Regions from separate parts of the Homo sapiens genome. Here region 2 is linked to region 1. The links are contacts of gene promoters, found by promoter capture Hi-C in blood cells and fetal thymus (Javierre and others, 2016). All regions are on one chromosome and are shown on one strand. The core of a region is centred on a gene start or on the middle of the fragment in contact, and the rest is flanking DNA. Distances in the headings are between cores, read along the strand shown.

The links. Contacts are between HindIII fragments. The CHiCAGO score rates a contact against its expected background, and 5 or more counts as called.
Region 2: a contact is called between a fragment that was not itself captured here and the fragment with the promoter of ATF7IP2 in region 1, in 1 of 17 cell types (fetal thymus). The highest score is 5.0, in fetal thymus.

Annotation. Positions count from the first base shown.
Region 1 is chr16:10,382,595-10,388,721 of GRCh38, reverse strand. It overlaps ATF7IP2 (activating transcription factor 7 interacting protein 2), which reads right to left and starts at 2,661. Exons shown (of 14, transcript NM_001393719.1): 1 at 2,600-2,661. RefSeq lists silencers at 2,783-2,922, 5,968-6,037. The HindIII fragment of the contact is 4,743 bases long and covers 1-4,370 here.
Region 2 is chr16:10,746,299-10,752,425 of GRCh38, reverse strand. NUBP1 (NUBP iron-sulfur cluster assembly factor 1, cytosolic) reads right to left here. Exons shown (of 11, transcript NM_002484.4): 3 at 5,150-5,283. Among named protein-coding and RNA genes, the nearest start is that of NUBP1, 5.5 kb to the right of the region's middle. The HindIII fragment of the contact is 2,874 bases long and covers 2,686-5,559 here.

The DNA.
Region 1 (6,127 bases), core at 1,412-3,911:
ATTTTTTATATCTTCAGTGACATGCCTTTCTTACAGTAGTTTTAATGCTGTTTAATGAATATTCACTTAAAAAACAAACCTCTGGAAAGCCACCCAGAGTTATTCTCTCCTTAATAACAAGTACTGAAAAGCCTCCCAAAGTCACTGTCTCCTTAGTAAAGAGTACTAAAAAGGCCTTGGCAACTTTTGCCATGGCTATCTGATAAGCTATTTCACATCAGCATACTGTACACACTAGAGCCTCAGAGGTATACTAATGAAACTTATGACCACATTTAGTAGACACATATAATGCCTCTAAATAATTCATGGCTAACTTCAGTAACACCTCTCTAAACATTTCATGGCTTAATCAGAAGTTCAAAAAAATCCAATATATTATCTCCCTTTCCTCCAAAAAGTCATGGTTATTTCTCTCTAGACACTGGCTGACTCCAATCTGTCCCATCGTTGGTAAAAATGAAGATGAAAAACTATCCTAGTCTACTGTAAAGCAGAATAATTATCTAAATGATATAAAAATATGAGATAGGCCGGGCGCTAAGACTAGCGCCTGTCATCCTAGCACTTTGGGAGGCAGAGGCGGGCTGATCACCTGAGGTCAGGAATTCGAGACCAGCCTGGCCAACACGGTGAAACCCCATCTCTACTAAAAATACAAAAACTAGTCGGGCGCCTATAATCCCAGCTACTTGCAAGGCTGAGGCAGGAGAATCACTTGAACCCGGAGGGAGGAGGTTGCAGTGAGCCGAGATCGCGCCACTTCACTCCAGCCTGAGCCAAAGAGCGAATCTCTGCCTCACAAAGAAAAATAAATAAGTAAAATAAAATAAAATAAACGAGATAGATAAGTCACCGCAGTGTGTGTGTGTCCGGGTGGCGGGGGGAGGGGGGGGGAGTAAAATAGACTGACATAGAATGAGAGAATAAGATTTTTTGGTATTTTGTATCATCTCGCTCAACAATGAGAACTAATACTCTTGCGCATTTAAAGTTGTATTTTATTTTTAACTATCCAATATATTAAACTTTGATTACATCAAATGAAATAGATTGTGCACACTCACTATAAGAGAGCTATGATATATGCAGAAGCAAAGGTGCAGGGATCATGCAATAGTTTCGTACCAGATTTCAAGATACCAAGTAGCAAGGAAACACAATGGAATTGAAGGCTGAGGTGAAGTACAGGCATAAGGCAAGGAAAGCAGAACATTCAAGATGTACCTATATACACCAGTTCTTAAAACACGCAAATCATTTCCAATAAGGCACTGGCTCATGTATTTCTGTTGAGGCAGAAGTCAATCTTAGGATGTGGTCTGTACATATCTGCAGATAAGACTGAGAGTGAAGTAAATTTGATTAAGATCGGAGTCAACACTTCTACAAACGTATTGCAGAATAAACGAGCTAAGAAGAAAGGCATACTTCACAAAAGCTGAATTCAGTGTTATTAGTCCTTCATTCAGATGCTTCATTTTTGCATTTTCAATTGCTTTCCTGTGATATAACTTATCTTTATCTTGGTCTTCCCCATTTGTTTTGCAAATAGTTATGTCGCAGGTCATTTACTGGCTACAATAAATATGACAAAATCATAATAAAAACAGTATTAAGTCGCAATCTAGAATAACAATTTAAGTGAATATGACATAATTTTTCTAATGTGGACTATTCAGTACAACTGTCCTCTTCTTCCATACATATTAACCATATGCAAGTCTTCAGAACAGAAAAAGCCATTGTGTCGTAAAGGAAGGAACACGTGGTTAGAAACTTCATTTTCAACACAGAAACACGGAAAGGTAGAAAGTCCGTTTCCTTAAGTGCGGTAAGGTTTTAACAAAAATAAGGCAAAAAAAATTATTGCGTCCTCTCTTTCTCAAACTTGCTTGCCAAACTTGGAGAAAACTGGTTAGAGAAGGGCGATAAGATGGAATTTTCTTAAAAACATATTCATAAAAACGAACTTCTACCTTAAGGAAATCGTCTTCCTTAAATCCTACCATCCTTACACCGGCAAGCTCAGAGGTACGGGATTTCAGCATTTTACTCAGAATTTTGTATTTTTCCTGATGCTCTGGTCCCTACTTTTTAACAAACTTCAAGGCCGCCAGGCGAGATCCAGTTGCCTTCTGGCACCTGACTTCATTAGATGATTAAAACAACTCAAGAAAATTTGGCAATGGGACACTAAAATTGGTGGAGGTGGAGATTTATCCGTTAATTTCTGAAAGCATTCCGGACAAGAGCGAGCTTTTACTTACCCCTCAGGACAAAAAACACGCACCACTTCCCTCCGCAGTCCCTAACCCCAGTGCCGCCCGGACCTGAGGCCGCACACCACTCCCGCTTCACCAGTATCCCTCTGCGAAAACGGTGGAGACGCGCCCGTCCGCCCCTCAGGGGCCTCTTCCCGGACCTGTCAGACGGCCCCGCGGACGCTTTTCAGTCAGGGCAGCTTCGCCGCAAACGTCCGGTAGGCCCGGCGCTCCGAGGCCTCCGGGGCCGGCCCTCAGAGAGGCGACCGACGCTCCTAGAGCCGCCACCCCGCCAATCGCCGCTCTCGCAGGACACTCGCCCGGCCCCAACGTACCTAGAGCGACGACGCACCAGCCGCAGCAATACCCACAGCCACTTCGAACCGCAGCCGTTAACAATGCTGGTCCGGCCAGGACCTGCTGAAGTAGGTCTCCCTACGCCCACCCCCAGCTGATTATGGACCAATGGCAGCGCGAATATGCGGCAGCCCAGCCAGTCAGGCACAGCCAGCTAGAGTGGGCGGGGCGAAGGGTCGCGAGGGGAAATGGAAGTAGGCTGAGGGGCGCCTGGGGTTCGCCTCCGTGGGCGCTTCTTCCGGTCAGCCACCGGGGCTTACCCGCCATAGCGCAGATGCAGGCTCCTGAGCTGGGCCTTTCTTTTGAGTGACTCGTGTGAAGATTTAGACTTTCGAAACTTATTAGGAATAAGACCTTATTTACAAAAACAACTCCTCACCCGGTCGGTAGTTTCCGATTTGAATTTTCTAATATTGTTTGAAAATATTTATCTTATTTACTTTTTTGGACGACTCCTTAAATTTTGTGACTCAGGAGATTGGTCCTAGCACCGTAGTCTTTTTTTTTTTTTTTTTTTTTTGAGACGGAGTTTCGCTCTTGTCGCCCAGGCTGGAGTTCAGTGGCGTGATCTCAGCTCACTGTACCCCCATTTCCCACCTCCCAGGTTCAAGCGATTCTCCTGCCTTAGCCTCCCGAGTAGCTGGGACCACAGGTGTGCACCACCATGCCCGGCTAATTTTTGTACTTTTAATAGACATGGGGTTTCACTATGTTGGCCAGGCTGGTCTTGAACTCCTGGACCTCAGGTGATCCGCCACCTCTGCCTCCCCATATGTTGGGATTACAGGCATGAGCCACTGCACCCACCCGCACCATAGCCTTGAGTTTGCTAAATTGTCCCAGGAACCTGCCAGCCTTGGCTGCTTGTGATTTCATGAGGCCCGATGCCTTAGGTGGCTGTGCACTTGGATGCCATGAACTCACTCAACAGGTGGTCACTGAATGCCCACTGTGTAGAAAATACAGGAAATACAACAGTAGATTAGATCCATAATGCCCTCTTTTTCATTAATTAATTTATTTATTTATTTGACAGAGTTTTGCTCTTGTTGCCTAGGCTGGAGTGCAATGGCGCGATCTCGGCTCACCACAACCTCCGCCTCCCGGGTTCAAGCGCTTCTCCTACCTCTGCCCCCAACAAGTAGCTGGGATTATAGGCATGCGCCACAGTGCCTGGCTAAGTTTTTTTTTTATTTTTAGTAGAGACGGGGTTTCTCAATGTTGATCAGGCTGGTCATGAACTCCCGACCTCAGGTAATCCACCTGCTTCGGCCTCCCAAAGTGCTGGGATTACAGGCGTGAGCCACCACGCTTGTCATGAGGCTAGAGCTGCCTGCCTTGTCACTTCCAGTTAGGAGAAAAATGAGGCAAGTCCGGACAATCTAGGTTGGGTCATCAATGGAATAACATACTCCAACCAGCCAGTTCCCCAAATATGCTCCAGGGATCTAGGGGTAATCTTTAATGTCAATCCTATTTTTATAATTATACTATTTTTATAATAATATAAAGATGATTTTGCTTTTTTCATTCTCTGAGTCAGGAGAGTACATGGAATTTTCTAGAAGCCTCTGGAAAATCGACGGGTGATATTGCTACAGATTGAATACAGAAGCAGACATGAGAATCTAACTACCAACCTGGGCAACAAAGTGAGATACCCACTTTTCTAGAAAAGTAAAAATAAAAAGTTAGCTGCATCCTTCCACCTACACGGGAGGCTGAGAGGACGGGAGGATCGCTTAAGCTTAGGAGTTAGGGACTGCAGTGAGCTGTGATAGTGTCACTGCACTCCACCCTGGGTGATAGAGCAAGAGACTGTCTTAGAAAAGAGAGAGAGAGAGGCCAAGCGCAGTGGCTCACATCTGTAATCCCAGCACTTTGGGAGGCTGAGGCAGCCGGATCATGAGGTCAATAGTTCGAGACCAGCCTGGCCAACATAGTGAAACCCCATCTCTACTAAAAATACAAAAATTAGCCGGGCATGGTGGCGCGTGCCTGTAATCCCAGCTACTCGGGAGGCTGAAGCAGGAGAATCGACTGAACCCGAGAGGTGGAGTTTGTGGTAAGCCAAGATCGCACTACTGCACCCCAGCATGGGCAACAGAGTGAGACTCCGTCTCAAAAACCAAAAAAAAAAAAAAAAGAGAGAGAGAGTCTTACTGTATTAAGTCAGACGTTAAGGAAATTAGCAAAAATGTAAAACAATCCTAATCTTTGCACATTTTTTGTTGTTCTAGAACATGATTTTGAAAATAATTATAGGGTTGCTAAGAGAGATAGTGTGGGAGGGAGTGGGAGGTAGTAAGTTGCAGTCAGATAAGGAATTTGGACTTAATTCAGTTAACAGTGAGTAACTAGCCTTTAGAAATGTTATGTCTATTTAAGGTACTAGGATATCTTGTATGTCATTTTAACAATAGTAATATAATAGGCCAGGTGGACACCTGTAATCCTAGCATTTTAGGATGCCAAGACCGACAGATAGCTTGAGCCCAGGAGTTTGAGACCAGCCTGGGCAATATAGCGAGACCCCATCTCTATAAAAAAATTATAATAATTGATATTTACTGGACATTATGTTAATAAAGTTTATTGTTGGCTGGGTGCGGTGGCTCATGCCTGTAATCCCAGCACTTTGGGAGGCCAAGGTGGGCAGATCACTTGAGATCAAGACCATCCTGGCCAACATGGTGAAACCCTGTCTCTACTAAAAATACAAAAATTAGCTGGGCATGATGGTGCGCACCTGTAGTCCCAGCTACTTGGGAGACTGAGGTAGGAGAATTGCTTGAACCTGAAAGAAGGAGGTTGCAATGAGTCAAGATCACGCCACTGCACTCCAGCCTGGTGACAGAGCGAGACTCCATCTCAATAAATAAATAAATAAATTCATTCACATAATGTGCTATATGAAGTACTATGAAGTCTCTCAATTTGCTGTTTGACTTTTTAAAATAATGCTTAACATAATAACAGATACAGTTGCTTGTACATTTCCTGACTTATAGTAGACACTTGATGTATAGTAACTATTATTATTAAAATTAATAAAGCTGAGAATATCAATTATCTTGAGTAAATTCTTTACATTTTTGTGTTGGAATGCTTTCTTGTTTGATAGTTTTCTTCCATTGAGGATTGTGGCGGGCAGAATTTGTACTCCCATGATCTTTGTCTCCTAGTGTGCGTCTTATGGTTATAAGTCACCTTACATGGCAAAAGGGACTTTGCAAATATGATTAAGGTTGTAATCAGCTGACCTTAAGATGGAGAACTTAACCGGGATTTCCCTGGTGAGTACAGTGTAATCACGTGAATCCCTAAAGGCAAAAGACAAGTCACACAGATGCAGCAGAAAGGAAAGTCATAGATTTTCAAAGCACAGGCAGAACTCAGCCCATGGTTCCTGGCTTGAAGATGAGGGGGACCACATGTAAACCTTGAGAATGAAAGTAGTACTGCCAACGACCTGAATGAACCCAGAAGCAGATTCTTCTGCAGAG
Region 2 (6,127 bases), core at 2,873-5,372, 360 kb before region 1:
TGATGCCCCCATTCCCCTACCCCTCAGCCTGGCTGAGCTCCTCAAGGGTGATCTTACAGACCTGGCTGTCAGGTCACTTGGAGGCTCGGGCTCAGACCTTGTTTACTGAGCCCTGGTTGGAGGAGACGGGGAAAGGGACCTAGCGCCTGTTTGGCTTGTGTGACAGAATGGATGGAACAGCCAAGAGACGGCAGTGTTGGAGCCACCCTAAACAGCTCTCTTTTGCTCACCCCTCACCAAGCCTTGGTCTCTGCATCTTAAATTTTTCTCAAACTCATCCTATCTTGTTCAGGAGTCTCAGATACAAGCCAAATCTAGACTATTTAAGCAGAATATGAATGTATTAAAAAATATTGGGGGCTGGGTGCAGTGGCTCACGCCTGTAATCCCAACACTTTGGGAGGCTGAGGCGGCCATGTGCCTAGAAGGTAAGTATCATTATCTCTGGTTTACAGAGGAGGAAACTGAGGTTCAGAGGGGACCAGTTCAATAAGCAGGGAACAGAGCTGGGACATAAACTGAGGTCTTTCGGCCCCAACTGGGGCTCTTTCCAGTACACCACGGGCCTGCTGTGGAGGACCAGAGTGGAGCCTCTAGCTGAACCCTGACCAAGCCCTGTTTTCCTTTGATCCTGAAGGTGAATGATGGTTTAGGCTAAACTTACAGAACAGAAACTTAAAGTAAGATGGAAACCTGGAAAAGCTCTTTAGTTGTGACTCAGGTGCAGCTTCAGGCGACCCCATTCCACCCCAAGCCTTCCCCTCTGATACAGGAGGTCTGAGACGGCCTTCAGGAACCTTCTGAGAACAGGGCTAGTATTCATCTTGAAAGCTGCAATGACTCGGATCCAAAGTGCTGCACCTCCGCGTCACTTTTTAACTTGCCCTGAATTAGTTTCTTGCCACCCTCTTCAATCCTCTCAACAAACCCAGCCTCCTACTTCCTCAGCACCCAGCGCTGTCTCAAACTTGTGCACGGGAAAACGCCATCCACAGACCAGCACTGGCCTCAGGTGCCCTCTATGGAGCCATCCGGGGAGAACAGCAGAGCGACATCATCGGAAAACCTGACTTGCTCTCTCCGGACCTTGATACTTGGGACTGATGTGTCAATGATCCACGGGGAAATGACACTATCACTATGACTGTGATAGAGACTTTCCTCGATACTCTCAGGTTTCTAGTGACTCTGTCTCCATGCCCTTCCTTTAGGGAACAATTTAATCAATTCCCTTTAGAGGAATTTCACTCCCTTGGGGAGTGAATCTTGAGCGAAATGATGTAAGGATATGAGAAGCAGATCCAGCGCACTCTCTCACTCCCGTGGCAGGCCCGAGAGGCTGTTGACAAGCTCCTGCTACCCAGATGGCCAGGACGGCCCTGGGTCCTGTCTGTTCAGACTTCCTGTTGATCTTATTACTACCCCAAAATCTGTCCATTTAATTTTGCTTAGGTTAGGCCAGAAAAGCAAAGCTGAGAGCAATGCGCCTGCGTTCCTCCCAGCAGGACCTCTGGGCCTGTGTTTGCAGCTGATGGGAAGAGGCCGCGTTTGCTGCAGAAGGTGGAGATGCTGCAAGGCTGTCGGGACCCAAAGCGTCTCCTTTACTCAGCACCCCAAACTGCCCCTGATGAGGAGGGTAGGGGAAGAGGGATTTAGTCCTAACTTTTAGTCCTTGCACAAGTTGCTTCTGCTTTCGAAGCCTTGGCTGTCTGGGCTTCTGATCTGTGAGACAACTGCTCCGGGGTCATCAAGGCCCCTCTCAGCTCTGCAGTCCCAGGACCCAGAGGAGGGCCTCGCACACTCAGTCCTGAAACACCTAGTGCTGACCTTGTTATGACAGTTTGCCTTTCAGATCACAAAGATCATAAATGTTTAATTTATGGTGGCTGGGTGTGGTGGCTTACGCCTATAATTTCAGAACTTTGGGAGGTTGAGGCAGGCGGATCACCTGAGGTCAGGAGTTCGAGACTAGCCTGGCAAACATAGTGAAACCCTGTCTCTACTAAAAATACAAAAATTAGCTGGGTGTGGTGGCACACGCCTGTAATCCCAGGTACTCCAGAGGCTGAGGCAGAACTGCTTGAGCCCGGGAGGTGGAGGTTGCAGTGAGCTGAGATCACACCACTGCACTCCAGCCTGGGCAAAAGAATGAGACTCCGTCTCAAAAAAACAAACAAAAAAAGTTTAATTTATGGAAGTTGGTGACTTGTTATTTATTCATTGTTTTTGAGGTAGAGTCTCACTCTGTTGCCCAGGCTGGAGTGCAGTGGCATAATCACGGCTCACTGCAGCCTTGACTTCCCAGGCTCAAGTGATCCTCCTACCTCAGTCTCCTGAGTAGCTGGGACTACAGGTGCTTACCACCACACCTGGCTAACTTTTTTTATGTTTTATGTTTTGTAGAGACAGGGGTCTCACTTTGAAGCCCAGGCTGGGAGTCGGTGACTTTTGCAGTGGAAGACAGTGTATGACTCTTGGCTGTCTCATGGCTCAGGCTTATGCTACAGAGGCTCCTTCTGCCTTCACCACAACTTACACACTCCCTGGGCAGCCTGTGACTCGTCAGGGGTGTTTTCTAATTCTGCTCTCTCTTGATCCAAGGCCCTTTGTGCCAATGAGATGACAGGCGCCTGCCTGCCTCAAGCGCTAACATGGAATGGTCTTGCACAGAGTTAGAGCCAAGCTTCCACCAGATGGCAGGCAGAAAAAGGTCAGGGCATGTCCCACCACCCTGCTGGATTTAGGGCAGGGAGAAATCTGTGCTGCTTGACTTTAATCAAGACATATTCAGCATTTTCCATGTGTTGACACTTTGCAGATAGTGATGTCACTGTCATGAGTAGGTCTGCCTGGGGAAAACACACTTTCCTAAATGCTGACTTCTTTTTTTTTTAAACCACCACTGCATAAAAAAATACAGCTGATCTAGCCATATTTCCACACTGAATGGTGTGCTTTCCTTCTGTATACTGCAAAGTCTAGACAGGCATGCAGCAAAGACTTCAGAACGTAATTACATGAAAGTGAAGGATGTAAACAGTTGTCTACTCACAAGTGGTTACTTGCAAGTGGTGAGATGAAAGCCCATCTCCAGTGAGCTGTTTAGGAATATTCCTGACAGCTTCGAAAAGCAAAGATTCTTCTAAACGATACAGACAATCTGAGAAAGCAGATTTCTTGGCCAGCCCACTAGGCCAGTACAGATTTGACCCTCAAATGGCAAGAGATCGCTGACTCACAGAATGACGAATCAACGTGTGTGTGTGTGTGTGTGTGTGTGTGTGTGTGTGTGTGTGTGTATGTGTCTGTGTATCTATCTATATCCTTTTTTTTTTTTAAATGGAGTCTTGTCTGTCACCCAGGCTGGAGTGCAGTAGGGCAATCTTGGCCCACCGCGACCTCCGCCTCCTGGGTTCAAACGATTCTCATGCCTCGGCCTCCCGAGTAGCTAAGACTACAGGCACGTACCACCATGCCCAGCTAATTTTTGTATTTTTTAGTGGAGACAGGGTTTCACCATGTTGGCCAGGCTGGTCTCAAACTCCTGACCTCAAGTGATCCGCCTGCCTCAGCCTCCCAAAGTGCTGTGATTACAGTGTAAGCCACCATGCCCTGCCCAACAAGTGTATTTTGAATCTGCCCAGTACTATACCTTGGGTAGGCTACAAACTCATCTCTAAGGCAGATGTAATCATCATCCCTTCATATCCAGAGAGTGAAATAAAGTAATAAAAATGGTGGCCATCACAGACCTTTACTGAGCATTGACTATTCGTCGGGCCCCGTGCTAAGTGCTTTACTGTGCCATCTCACTCAGTCCTTGGAGTCCCATTTTATAGATGAGAAAACGGAGGCAGAGTAAGCCTGGTAACTTGCCCAAGGTCACAGCAGTGGTGTAGATGGAGCTGGGACCTGAGTTTGGGCTGTCTGACTCCAGAGTGTGTGCTCTTAGCGACCCACCAACCCCTTTTATTAAAGTTGAGATCCAGAGGGCAGCAGTGGGTAATCTGAGTTTTCATGCTCGTCTGTATGCATGGGTGGAAATGAATAAACTCGTGTAAGGGCCAGCAAAAATTTTCCACAAGGGCCAACAGCAAATATATTATTAGGCTTTGTGGGCAAAATCAAGGATCATATGTAGGTACTTAGGTACTAATTTAAAAATTGCAATTTTAGGCCAGGCACGGTGGCTCATGCCTATAATCTCAGCACTTTGGGAGGCCGAGGCAGGGGGACGCCTTGAGTTCAGAAGTTCAAGACTAGCCTGGGCAACATGGCAAAACCTCATCTCTACAAAAAACCCAAAAATTAGCCGGGCATGGTGGCAAGCACCTGTAGTCCCAGGTACTTGAGAGGCTGAGGTGGGAGGATAGCTTGATGAGCCCAGGAAGTAGAGGTTGCAATGAGTCCTGATCATAGCAATGCACTTCAGCCTGGGTGACAGAGTGAGATCCTGTCTCAAACAAACAAAAAACATTTCAAAAATGTGAACATTCTTAGTTCAAAGGCCATAAGGCAGGAGATGGGCTGGATTTGGCCCACTGGCTATAGTTTGCAGGTCCCTGGCTTAGAGAAAAGCTAAAAGGGGTTAATAAAGAGGAAAAAGAAGCGTGAACGTAATGTAATAAACTATCCACATGCAAGGACAGATGTACATCTGCTAGCCATTTTCTTGGCTAGGGAATCCAGTGAAATGCTTCATTTGACTACTGGGCATTTCTTTGCTCTCTGCCGGATTGAGATTCCAAAGAGGCCAATTCAACTTAGTATAAGGAATCATTTTTTTTTCTTCTTGGACAGTCTCATTCTGCCACCCAGGCTGGAGTACACTGGTACAATCTTGACTCACTGCAACCTCTGCCTCCTGGGCTCAAGCGATTCTCATGGCTCATCCTCGCGAAAAGCTGGGATTACAAGCCTGCGCTACCACGCCCAGCTAATATTTTGTATTTTTAGTAGAGACAAGGTTTTGCCATGTTGGCCAGGCTGATCTCAAACTCCTGGCCTCAAGTGATCTGCCCGCCTTGGCCTCCCAAAGTGCTGGGATTACAGGCATGAACCACTGCGCCTGGCCTAGGAATCAGTTATTTAGTAGCCATCACGACCCTCAGACAAAATGAGCATCTCCCAGTGGTTCCTGAGGTCTCACCTGTGTGTTTTCATCCTCTGCTAGGCCATGGGCAAGGTGGGCGCTGAATGTGCTTTTCCCAACACCGCCTTTCCCAGACAATACCAAGATTTTGTGTTTTACAGTCTTCATTTTCTCTTTGATTTCCTCTATAGCTGCAAAGAAAACCAAAGTTCAGGGGATGAGGTCCCACACCAAACCTCGAATGTCACGCTTCCAGTCAACTAGAAAGAGCTAAGTCCTAGTCCTAGTACTAGTCCTGGGGCTGTTTAAAACGATCCTCTGAAATACCTCTCAGACAATGGTAGAAATAAGTGCTAGGAAGAAAATAAGGCTATTATCACACTTGAAGGGGTCTCATTTATTGGTTTACACGTTTGTCTCCCCCAACTAGAACATAGTCTCCACAAAGGTAGGAACTGTCTGAAGCTTTCAGTGCTGTATTCCCAGCTCCAGAAGAGAACTTTGCAAACAGCAATGGTCACCAACTTGGGGACAAAATCCCCCAGAGACATTTGGTAATGTCTGGAGACACTGTTCTTTCTTTCTTTTTTTTTTGAGACAGAGTGTTGCTCTGTCGCCCAGGATGGAGTGCAGTGGCGTGATCTCGGCTCACTGCAACACTGCCTCCTGGGTTCAAGCGATTCTCCTGCCTTAGCCTCCCAAGTAGCTGGGATTACAGGTGCCTGCCACCATGCCTGGCTAATTTTTGTATTTTTAATAGAGACGGTGTTTCTCTATGTTGGCCAGGCTAGTCTCGAACTTCCAACCTCAAGTGATCCACCCACCTTGGCCTCCCAAAGTGTTGGAATTACAGGTGTGAGCCACCATGCTCAGCCTGGAGACACTTTTCATTGTCACAGGAGAGGTACTGCTGGCATTTAATGGGTACAGCCCAGATTGTGCTAAATGTCCTACAATGCACAGGACAGCCCCCCACAACAAAGAGTGATCCTGCCCCAAATGTCAGCAGTGCTGAGGTTGAGAAACTCTGATAGA